2 separate regions of the Homo sapiens genome follow, and region 1 is linked to region 2. Evidence: promoter capture Hi-C in human tissues and cell types (Jung and others, 2019). All regions are on one chromosome and are shown on one strand. The core of a region is centred on a gene start or on the middle of the fragment in contact, and the rest is flanking DNA. Distances in the headings are between cores, read along the strand shown.

Evidence for each region. Contacts are between HindIII fragments. The study calls those that stand out against the background at their distance.
Region 1: a fragment that was not itself captured here is called in contact with the fragment with the promoter of HSD17B3 in region 2 in 1 of the 25 tissues and cell types used here (dorsolateral prefrontal cortex).

Annotation. Positions count from the first base shown.
Region 1 is chr9:94,654,107-94,660,122 of GRCh38, forward strand. No RefSeq gene overlaps it. Among named protein-coding and RNA genes, the nearest start is that of FBP1, 18 kb to the left of the region's middle. The HindIII fragment of the contact is 7,157 bases long and covers 101-6,016 here.
Region 2 is chr9:96,298,776-96,304,638 of GRCh38, forward strand. HSD17B3 (hydroxysteroid 17-beta dehydrogenase 3) reads right to left here and starts at 3,401. Exons shown (of 11, transcript NM_000197.2): 1 at 3,176-3,401. The coding sequence starts at 3,329. It overlaps SLC35D2-HSD17B3 (SLC35D2-HSD17B3 readthrough), which reads right to left. Exons shown (of 26, transcript NR_182427.1): 16 at 3,176-3,536. The HindIII fragment of the contact is 9,231 bases long and covers 1-5,863 here.

The DNA.
Region 1 (6,016 bases), core at 2,429-4,928, 1.6 Mb before region 2:
GTGGAGAAGGATGGAAAATGGACCTGGAGGTGCAAACAACCAGCACAAGTCCCAGAGCACAGTCCTCAGAGCTGGAGCCCCTCTCCAAGGCCCATCAAGAGCCATCTCCATAGTCCTCCAAGAGGACTGCTGTCCATGTACCGCCTTCTTGGAACAGAAATCAGAGAAGTCAGAGTTCTTCTCCATGCGAGTACTGACGAGTGGGTGCGCTGAGACTGAGTCATTGGCTAGAGCAGGAACTGGTGGGCAGTGATGCTGGGGAAGGAAGTACAGAGAGGACATGTCAGGTGGTCACCAGCCCAGCAACTCCCCATCACATGTGCCTCAGCACGTCCAGCCTAAGGGAGGGAGGGACAGTCGACCCAGACCTTGTCAGTCCACAGGCTGGAGGTAATTGAAATCCAGCCACTTTGATGGCAACTGCTATGGCCCTAGTCCTGTACTATAAAGCAGATCATCTGAGAACAAGAGAGCTCACCCAATGTCCATTTCACCTTGAATAAAATCTGGAGGCTGTGGCTCTGCTTACCCTCAACAGTCAGCTAGGGGCACTTCTCCAATGACACACCCCATGTCCTTAGACTTCCTCAGTGGCTCAATGTCTAACATGAGGAAGCGAGAACATGGACATCCCAACGCTTGTGTAATTGTAACGACTGTCTGCAAAGCACTTCAGTGTTCCCAAATGGAAAGATTCCCCGGAAGTAGAAAGAGCTATTATTGTCCATTATGAGCATTCTTTCTAGAATCTTCTTCTTTCTACCCTCAACTGTGGCTTTTTAGACTAGCAGACATCTGCCAAAAGCCACTAACCCAGAGACACTGATTCTATCAAACAGCACAGTGGGACAGTCACTCTCCCAACTTTCTTTCTTTTTCTTTTTTCTTTTTTTTTTTGAGACAGAGTTTCGCTCTTGTTGCCCAGGCTGGCGTGCAATAGTGCAATCTCGGTTCACCGCAACCTCCACCTCCTGGGTTCAAGCGATTCTCCTGCCTCAGCCTCCCGAGTAGCTGGGATTACAGGCATGTGCCACCGTATCCAGCTAATTTTTGTATTTTTGGGAGAGACAGGGTTTCTCCATGTTGGTCAGGCTTGTCTCAAATTCCCCACCTCGGGTGATCCACCCACCTCAGCCTCCCAAAGTGCTGGGATTACTGTCATGAGCCACCAGGCCCGGCCCCCAACTTTCTTAATAATTAAATCCAATCTCTTGCTAGACAGACTTTTTTGTTGTAGTGCCAAGGCTGCTTGAAATTTTCATTTTGCTGTCTAATTTGCATAAACTTGTAATCAATAAGTTTTTGCCCTATACTTGGCCCCTACTCCTACCGTAGTAAAATATTCGATGCATATTTTTCATGGAAATATTGAAGAAACATACATTCTCAGACAAGAAACATCAAATGTGGCCATTGCTTTTGTACCACTCAATATGCAACTCAGACTGGTTGAAATTTAGACCAAATGGTAACATCCAGAAGAAGATAGGACCACAGAGCTAAGGAGGGCTGCAGTGGGCTGAATATGGTGCCACTGCCCACAGTGTCCACCCAGAATCTGGGATGGTGGCCTTATTTGGGAAATGGGGTCTTTGAAGATGTAATCAAGTGAAGGCTGTTGCCATGTGATCATCCTGAATTACCCAGGTGAGCCCTAAACCCAATTACAAGTGTCCTCACAAGAGAAAGGCAGAGAGAGATTTGAAACACACAGAGCAGAAGGTGATGTGGAGGTGGGACAGAGACCCAGCGAAGCAGCCACATGCTGAGGAGCGCCTGGAGCTGGAGGAGGCAGGAGAGGACTCGTCCTGAGCCGTCAGAGGAAGGACAGCCCTGCCGCCACCTTCATTTCAGACTCGGCTTCCAGAACCGCAGGAGGACACAGTTCTGTGGCTATGAACCACCCGATTTGTGGTGCTTGGTTATGGCAGCCACAGGAAATGAATACAGAAACTATTCAAATCCCCTGGTTGAATTCCTTTATTTTACAGATGAGAAAAATAACAGCATTCGCAAGCGACACACAGTTTATGAAATGTTTTCACAGAGTGACCATGTTCAGTCTTCATAGCAATTCTGTGAGGTGGTAGTTTCTGCCTGTTAAAAGGAAAACTGAGGCAAACTACATTTAACAGAGTTTAATTGAGCAAAGAATGATATGGGAATCAGGCAGCCCCCTGACCAGAAGAGGTTCAGAGCGTCTCTGGTGCTGCCGTGTGGTGAGAGTCTTTACGGGCAGAGAACGGAAAGTGAAGCACAGAAAACAGAAGTGAGGCAGAGAAACAGCCTGATTGGCTACAGCTCAGCGTTGGCCTTACTCGAACACAGTTGGAAGACTTGGCCACCTGTGAGTGGTTGAAGTATGGTTGCTTGTCACAAGAGTAGGTTACAGCCCCTTTCACATCCAGTTAAGTGACAGTTCCCTTTGTGCAGAGAAGCCTTTAGCCACACAGGTCCCAAATGTAACATAACATTTGTTACACTTAAAATAAGTAAGGAGGCAGCTGTAGGCTAAATTTAACATGCCTGGGAGGAGGGAACTGAAGCTCAAACCAGAAGCAGCAGATAGATGGGTCTGCAAATTTCATGCGTTTTCCACCAGATCTCTGCCTGTGGCTCAGAGAGGTGTGGCAGCACAGCTACCTCACACAGCTGCTGAGAAACAGGCTTGGATACAGGTCTTTTTTTTCTCCCCACTTTTGCTTCAGATCTCTACCCAGGTATAACGAGCTGCATCTCAAGGTCAGAACGACTGAACAATAAAGAGGTTGGTTCAACAGATGACCTCAAAACTCATAACCTACATCCCGAAGCTAAAGAAAAACTTACGTCTCCAAAAAGAGGTGTAGTTAGCTGCAGGTTATTTGAATGAGCAGCACATGCTGTGCATTTGCTTTAAGATTCTCCAAACACGCAGAAAGCCAAGCTAATCCTCAGCGCTCCCATGCCAATCTGGTGTGGGGACCCTCCACTCCAGGCTGCCTTGTAGAATGCCTTATTGATGTGCGGCAAGGGGCACCCCATGAAAGTCCCAACAGCTCTGAAGGTAATGAGCAAATAATCCAGTTGAGCAAGCAATCAAAGAACAATAACAATTGTCTTGTGACAATACCCCCCAGTTTGTAATTAGTTAGCTTAAATTAGTTTAAATTCACTTCATTTGGAAGATTTTGCCTCTGAGGCAGGCCAAGGCTCTCTTTCAGAGGCCAATTAGATTAAATTAGAAGTGGCACATTAGCTGGGGAGACTTCATTCATTTTGGGTTTTTGCAGCCTTAATTATGATGCAGACACAGCTGGAGTCATCCTTTGGAGGGTTTTCTTGCTTCAGCAGGCACTGGAGGCGACTGGATTCCTGGGAGAGGTGCTTTCAGTGGCGTGTGTGGCCAACCAAGCCACCCAAGGCTACTTTGTCACCAGATTCTGCTCTTGGCCCATTCCCCCAGCTGCTGTGGGAGAGTCACAGGAAGTGAGGAATCCTAAGAAGATCTTCCTTTTTCAAAACAGCTTCATCAAGGTGCAATTAACAGACAAGAAACTGCACACACTGAAAATACACACTTTGGTATGTTTTCACATGTCTATACCCATGGAACTACCACCACAATCAGAATAATAAGTATATTGAAGGAAATGAAAATATTTCACTCCAAAATATACTTTTTGGCATATTTTAAGATGGCTATTCAAAAGGGCTAGAAATCCAAGAATAGCTGAAAAGCTGTCTTGCTGGGGGAGGTTTGCGTCCATAGAGACCATCTTTGTGAGCCAGGCCTCCTCTTCTGCCCCTGCCATAAGCTGATTTGTCATCTTTTTTTTCTTTTCTTTTTTTTGAGACGGAGTCTCGCTCTATTGCCCATGCTGAGGTGCTGAAGTGCAGTGGTGTGACCTCGGCTCACTGCAACCTTTACCTCCTAGGTTCAAGCGATTCTCCTGTCTCAGCCTCCCGAGTAGCTGTGACTACAAGTGCATGCCACCACGCCCAGCTATTTTTTTTTTTTGGTATTTTTGTATTTTTAGTAGAGACAGGGTTTCACCATGTTGGCCAGGCTGCTCTCGAACTCCTGATCGCAGGTGATCCACCCGCCTCAGCCTCCCAAACTGTTGGGATTACAGGCGTGAGCCACCGCACCTGGCCCCCCCGACTTGCCATCTTAACCCACTGTGGGCCACCCTCAGATCCCCTGTTCTCTCTGTAACCTCGAGGAGATACACAAGCTTCTGCACCCGTGGGGGTTGGGGTCATCTTTCTGTGATTTTCCCTCCATGCACGTTGATAAATTTGTATGCTGTTTCTAGTATTAGTCTGCCTTTTATAAATTGATTTTTCAGCAAGTTTTTAGAGGATGCAGGGGAGCTTTTTCCCTTGGTCCCTGCAATATCTATCCATTGCCCCCAGAAATTTCCTCGTGTAATTTTGTCATCTCTCCCTCCACCCCTTCCCTCTCACACAGACTCGGGCAACAACTGGTCTGCTTTTGTCACCATAGACTACTTTGTATTTTCTAGGATTTTATATAAATGGAATCATACTACATGTACTCTTTTTTTGCTCTTTCGCAAAGCATAATTGAGATTTATCTATGTTGTTTTGAGTTATCAATAATTATTCCCTTTTTATTGCTAAGTAGCATTCTATCATCCAGATATACTACAGTCTGTTTATGTTTATCGTTGAGAAATTTGGACCTTTTCTAGGTTGGGGTTATTTCACATAAAGCTGCAGCAGACATTTGTATACAAGTTTTTGTGTGGACATATGCTTTCATTTCTTTTGGGAAAATACCTAGTAGTGGAATGGCTGGTCATAGGCTGCTATATGGTGAACGTTTTCAGAAACTGCCAAACTTTTCCAAAGCCATTGGACCATTTTACATTCCCATTAGCCTGGGACCATTGTTACAGGTTCCCAGGTGATCTATATCTTCCCAACACCTAGTATGATTAGTCATTTAATTTTAGCCATTCTAATAGGTATTAACTAAGGTTACCCTAAAGCTGCCTCCATACATAGTTTAAGTTGGGCCTTAATTTCCTCTGTACATAGTGAACTATAACTTAACTGGATGTGTAAACAGACTATAACCTACTCTTGTGCCAATTATCAAATTGCACTCAATTTTCTTTTTCTATAATTCCTCTCCAATCACGTGGCAGCCACCAGCGTTATTCTGACCTATTCTGGCTCAGGAGGCCACACAGTTCATGAATCGTTCTTTGCTCAATTAAACTCTTAAATTTAATGTCTTAAGTTTTTATTTTAACAGTCGTAGTGGTTCTCATTATGATTTTGTGTGTGTGTGTGTGTGTGTGTGTGTGTGTGTGTGTGTGTGTGTGTGTGAGATAGCATCTCACTCTGTCACCCAGGCTGGAGTGCAGTGGTGCAATCATGGGCTCGACCTCTTGGGCTCGAGTGATCCTCCCACCTCGACTTCCCAAAGTGTTGGGATTACAGGCACGAGCCACTGTGCCCAGCCTCTCATGGTGATTTTTAATTTGCATTTCTATAATGACAACGATGTTGAGCCTATTTTCCTGTGCTTGTTTCCCAGCTATGTAGCTTCCTTGGTGAAGTGTTCATTCAAATCTTTTGCCCATTTAAAAAAAATGGGTTGGTTGGGCCAGGCGCAGTGGCTCATGCCTGTAATCCCAGCACTTTGGGAGGCCGAGGCGGGTGGATCACAAGGTCAGGAGATCGAGACCATCCTGGCTAACATGGTGAAACCCTGTCTCTACTAAAAATACAAAAAATTAGCTGGGTGTGGTGGCGGGCACCTGTAGTCCCAGCTACTCGGGAGGCTGATGCAGGAGAATGGCGTGAACCCGGGAGGCAGAGCTTGCAGTGAGCCGAGATCGTGCCACTGCACTCCAGCCTGGGCGACAGAGCGAGACTCCATCTCAAAAAAATAAAATAAAATAAATAAATAAATAAATAAATAAATAAATAAAAATTGGGTTGGTTGTTTTCTTACTGAGTTTTGAAAGTTCTTTACATATTCTGCATACAAGTCTTTTAT
Region 2 (5,863 bases), core at 2,151-4,650:
TTTCCTGCAGGCCCCATGAGGATGCAGATATTGTGAGCCTTCACCCCACAAGGGCAGGCAGTGTTCCCCATTATCTCTCTGCCCAGGCACCCATCTGTCATTGTAAGGACATTTCAAGGTTCCTTCTAAAAGTGGAGCTCTGCCCACTTCTCACCCCCACCCCACAGCAGCAATTAAAGGCCTATGGAAGGTAGGGAATTTAGCAAAGAGGAAAATACCAAAATGCAAAAAGAAAATGCAGTGAAATGAAGAAACCTGAAGAATTTGTACTCAATAGAACTATCTGTTAATATACAACAGTCAAATAGGTCTGCTAGTCCTTTCATATCAACATTACAGACATATTTAATGATTGAGCTCTAGTATACGCTTCATTCGTGAGAACGTCACAATTTCAAAATTCACTACAATTCGGTATATCGTAAAACTTACAATTTACCCTTGCAACAACAATTAAAGGGCATGCTTTCAAAAAGTGTGAACAAAAGGTACATTTAGCTCACCTGAGAGTGAGTGCAGGCCAAGCTGTACAAGCCTCACGGACCACACTGGCTTTAATAATTACTAATGATGTGTCTGTTCGTTTAGGAACTTCTAAGAGGCTCCATGCACACCGTCTGCAGCTCTGGGTGGAGGAACTATGCTCAGGGCATCTTGGGCCTTACCTTCCCCTCCCTGTGGGGAATCTTCAATTCACCCAATACAGGGCCTACACTACAGGCAAGATGATACCATCAATAATAACGACGGATAACGGTCACACACTCACTTCTTGCCATGTACTGCTTCTAGTGTTTTAGATGCATCATCTCATTTAATGTTCAAAACAAACCTAAAATGCAGGGACCATCATTATCCTTAGTTTATAAATGAGGAAGCCAAGGGGAAAAAGTTCGTAACTTGATTAAGGTCACACTGCTAAAAATGATGACACAAGGATTTGAACCCAGGCTGTCTGACTTTGGGGCCCTGAGTCTATGAATATACACTAAGAAAAGAATTAGGAAATCCAGCACAGAGCTCAGGGTACTCTATCTGAGGAATTAAAAATTTAGCCTCTAGTTCTTGCGTTTCTTTTTTGTCCCCTACTTGAAATATATTATCTCCCTGATATCTGCCTCTGCCCAAACATATTTTACTCCTGCTAGAGGTAACTCTATCCATCTTGACTCATAAAAACAGGTTAAGATCATGTTTTTCCTTTGAGTCACCAAATGCTCTTAGTCTCTGTCCCCATTTGAACTTCTTTTAGAATGTAGGTTTTTAGAAGGGCTTTCCCTACACAAACGACAGCAGCTGTGCAGAGTGCTACGTCCACCCACACGTGGGCATCTGAATCTGTGTGGAGTGGGGTATTTAAATCCAGAACACTCAGGTCAAGCTGCTGAGCAAGTTCAAGCAAGTTCACTCCTGACAGCATAATACCCCAAGAGGACACACACACACACACACACACACACACACACACACACACACACGCACACAGCAAATATAAGACGCAGAAGTCAAAAATCCATTTGTCATCCCAAACAATTTCTCACACGGTAATTTTTTTAATTTCCATTGCTAAGTTTTTAAGGTTGCCAGGTTTAGCAAATAAGGATACAGAATGCCCACTTAAATTTGAAATTAAGGTAAATTATGAATTGTTTAATGCATGTCTCATGCCATATGTGAGTTATACTAAAAAAGTATTCCTTTTTTTCTGAAATTTAAATTTAACTGGGTATCCTGTATTTTATCTGGCAGCCCTATAAGCATATTAGAATCTTTCCTATTTTGCCTAGATAATATCTCTAAAGTCACTTAATCATTTTTGTCATTGGATTCTTTGTGTGTGTGTGTGTGTGTGTGTGTGTGTGTCCAAATTTGAAATATAAGGCCCTGCAAAGACTTTAGCATTTCAGATATTCAAGGAGATGCTGAAACCATGGCCTCATGCTCTTCACCTTAACTTCAGTCATAGGGCTGAAGTTCTGCATGGGCGTTCCAGTAGATAAATCCCATGGGGAGGCAGCATTAATTGACACCAGCCAGACCCAGATTCCATTCCATACCATCCTGAAAACATGGCTCCATAGAGTTATGCGTTGCCTTGATTTTGTAACACCTTCATTTCTTAAAAACACTTGGATCCTTTTTTTAATACAATGAGTTAAAATTATTTAGATTTCAAAATTTGGAAACACCTTTTAGTAAAGTGAAAGCACCCTGGGCTTTTTGTAAATTTAGAGATGAGGATGCAGAAATTTCTGCATTATTTATTATTTGTATTAGCAGGAAACTCCCAAAAGAAGAAAACTCATCTAATGGGGTTGAGAGGATAAGTGCTTAGCAAGGGCTGGGTAGCCTTCTGCCCTAGTGTTCCCCTAATGCCCTACAGCTTGTGTTGCAGACCATTCTAATTTCACTCACACTTTTCTAATCCCCCCAATTAAAATTACCCAAAGGAATTACTTCTTTGCTCTCAAAGAGAAAAAAATGCAATATCCCTTTTGAGACATAAATAATAATAAGCAGGGGCTGGGTGCGGTGGCTCACGCCTGTCATCCCAGCCGTTGGGGAGGCCGAGTCGGGTGAATCACAAGGTCAAGAGTTTGAGACCAGCCTAGCCAACAGGGTGAAACCCTGTCTCTACTAAAAATACAAAACGTTGGCTGGGTGCGGTGGCTCACGCCTGTAATCTCAGCACTTTGAGAGGCTAAAGTGGGCAAATCATGAGGTCAGGAGTTCGAGACCAGCCTGGCCAACATGGGGGAACCCTGTCTCTACTAAAATACAAAAAATTAGCCAGCCGTAGTAGTGTGTGCCTGTAATCCCAGCTACTTGGGAGGCCGAGGCAGGAGAATTGCTTGAACCCAGGAGGCAGAGGTTGCAGTGAGCAGAGATCGCACTACTGCACTCCAGCCCGGGCAACAGAGTGAGACTCTGTCTCAAAAAAAAAAAAAAAACACCATTAGCCAGGTGTGGTGACAGGCGCCTATAATCCCAGCTACTTGGGAGGCTGAGGCAGGAGAATTGCTTAAACCCGGGAAGCGGAGGTTGCAGTGAGCCAAGATCGCGCCATTGCACTCCAGCCTGGGTGACAGAGCAAGTGTCTGTCTCAAAAATAATAATAATAGTAACAAGCAGGAACAACAGCAGCAAAAAAACATGAGATGGAACACTCCCTTACCTGCCCACTGTCCCATTGACCGCAAGAAAGACTTTGGCAAAACTTTCCAGTAGTTCAGTAAAACACATCTGGAGAATCTCACGCACTTCGCCAGGCAGGCCAGGCACACCAGCAGCCCTGTGAGGATGAAGAACTGTTCCAGGACGTCCCCCATGGCTGCACTCAACAGACTGTTTCAGCCCTGGCCGTGGCTCTCTGTGTATGCCTCCTGGGACCACGCTGCTCTGGAGACCTCCAGATCTTCTTCCAGGAGTCACTGGACGTGTTCCATCAAGTCAGGGGCATCTAGATTAAAGTAACTTCTTTACATAATCCTCTGACTCACAGGCCTTTGAATAAGGCTTTTGTTACTGTGGAGGAGCTGGTGAAAAAGTAAAAGGTGGACATGAAGGGAAAAAAACAAAGCCTGGACAAATATAAAATGGCAGCCCACAGTTCTCTCCCTGAATTTGGGAAAGTTAAAAAGGATGCAGAATCCAAGGCAATTATTCATACATTTAGCACTATGTATTGACTGCCTACCAGGTGGAGTCCCCTCTTGAAGGCATTAGGAAGTTAATAGTGACCACAGAGGGTCTCTCTGGTTTGGAGCTTAGATTCTGGTAGCAGGGACAGATGATGAGCAGATAAATAAGATAACATCAGATGGGGCAGTGGCTCACGCCCATAATCCCAACATTTTGGGAAGCCAAGGCAGGCGGGTCACATGAAGTCAAGAGTTCAAGACCAGCCTGGCCAACATGGTGAAACCTCATCTCTACTTAAAATACAAAAATTAGCCAGGCCTGGTGGTGGGCACCTGTAATCCCAGCTACTTGGGAGGCTGAGGCAGGAGAATCACTTGAACTTGGGAGGCGGAGGTTGCAGTGAGCCAAGATCACGCCATTGCACTCCAGCCTGGGTGACAGAGTGAGATTCTGTCTCAAAAAAAAAAAAAAGATAACATCAGTGCTATGAAAAAGCACTATTGAATGATGTGTTTGAGTAGCTACTCAGGGAATGCTTCAGAGAGGGTGTTCAGGAAGGAATTCCATGAAGAGGTGGCATTTTTAGTTGAAATTTGAATGAAAAGGAGCCAGCTCCGCAAAGATGAGTTTCCCCCTCCAGGCTAATGGAACGGCTAGTACAATGCCTGAAGTGAGAAAAATCCACGTATTTGAGGAATAAGAACTAGGACAGGACAGGCATGGTGGCTCACGCCTGTAATCCCAGCACTTTGGGAGGCCGAGGCAGGCGGATCACAAGGTCAGGAGATTGAGACCTACTAAAAATACAATAATTAGCTGGGTGTGGTGGAGCATGCCTGTAATCTTAACTACTTCGGAGGCTGAGGCAGGAGAATCGCTTGAACCTGGGAGGTGGAAGTTGCAGTGAGCTGAGATTGTGCCACTGCACTCCAGTCTGGGCGACAGAGCAAGACTCCATCTCAAAAAAAAAAAAAACACTAGGACAACACAGCAGAGGGACTGGCCACAGAGAGTAAGGGAGGAAAAGGCCAGAGCAGGAGGGAGGAGCCATGCCCTACGGGTGAGTGTGGACTTTCAGAGCAACCAGAAGCCATTGCACAGATTTAGGAAACAGAGTTCTATACTCTGAATTATGCTTTTAAAAGGCCACTGGATGCTGAGGGAAGATGTCCTTCTGGGGGTGGGATGGAGGGTGGGTGTGACAACTGAAGCAAGGGCAGCCAGGATACTGAAGTCATCCCTGCAGAGGCCACAGGATCAGTCCTTGGCCTTCTCTCATTTCTGCCTGTGCTCACTCTCAGCTCACTCTGTGCTGCAATCAACAGCCTTGCGCTCACCCTAGAAGCAGAATTGCTGGCCAGAACATAGATTCATACGTCTTTATGCTAGATATTGTCAGATTTGCCTTCATTTTGCATTCACGCCAACAACACGTGAGCATGTTCGTTTTCCCACTGCCTTAGCAGTAAAGCATGTTGTCAAGCTTTGGGACTTTTGCCACCCAGTAGGTAAGAAGTAGCATCCAATGTTGTTTTAAGTTTAAATTATCTTATCAGCCAGGTTGGAGAGATTTTCTTAAGCCTAAGAGCTATTTTCACTGTTTTCTTTGTGAATTTTCTCTCTCCTGCCCGTTTTTCTATGTGGTTTTTGGTCTTTCCCTTCTCTGTATTTAGAGATGGTTTCAGGACTCTGATTAGTCAGAAATTCGACCTGCTCACTCTGTCCTTCATGGTCATTGATTATCTCTTCAGGTGTGTCTGATCATTGTTAAGTCAGCCCATTGTGGTTTTTATTTTAATGACCTTAACTTCATTTCTAAAAGTTCCTTTTCTTTTTTGCAAAACTGAGGCTTTTCTTCTTATGGTTCTCTGCTCCATGCAGATATTTTTAATTTTGACTTTCTTTACCTCAGCATAATTGTCTTATGATCTGGCTTTAACAATTCCAGTACCTACATCAGCCTTTCTGTTGCTGTCTCCTCTCTCTGGTAGGTCTCACTCATGGTGCCCTGTTTCCTTGTGTGCTTGATAATTTTCACCTGTGCACATCCCATTTTGCTTGGAAATTTCTCTGTGAGGTTTTCTGATGAAGCTGTATTCCTCCATAGAGGAGGTGGTTTTGCTTCTACCAGATACCTAGAGGAACTTCCAATTTGGAAAATTAAATTCATGGCTAAATTCATAGTTTTCTAAACCATGCAGGTGAAGTGAATTTGGTCTGC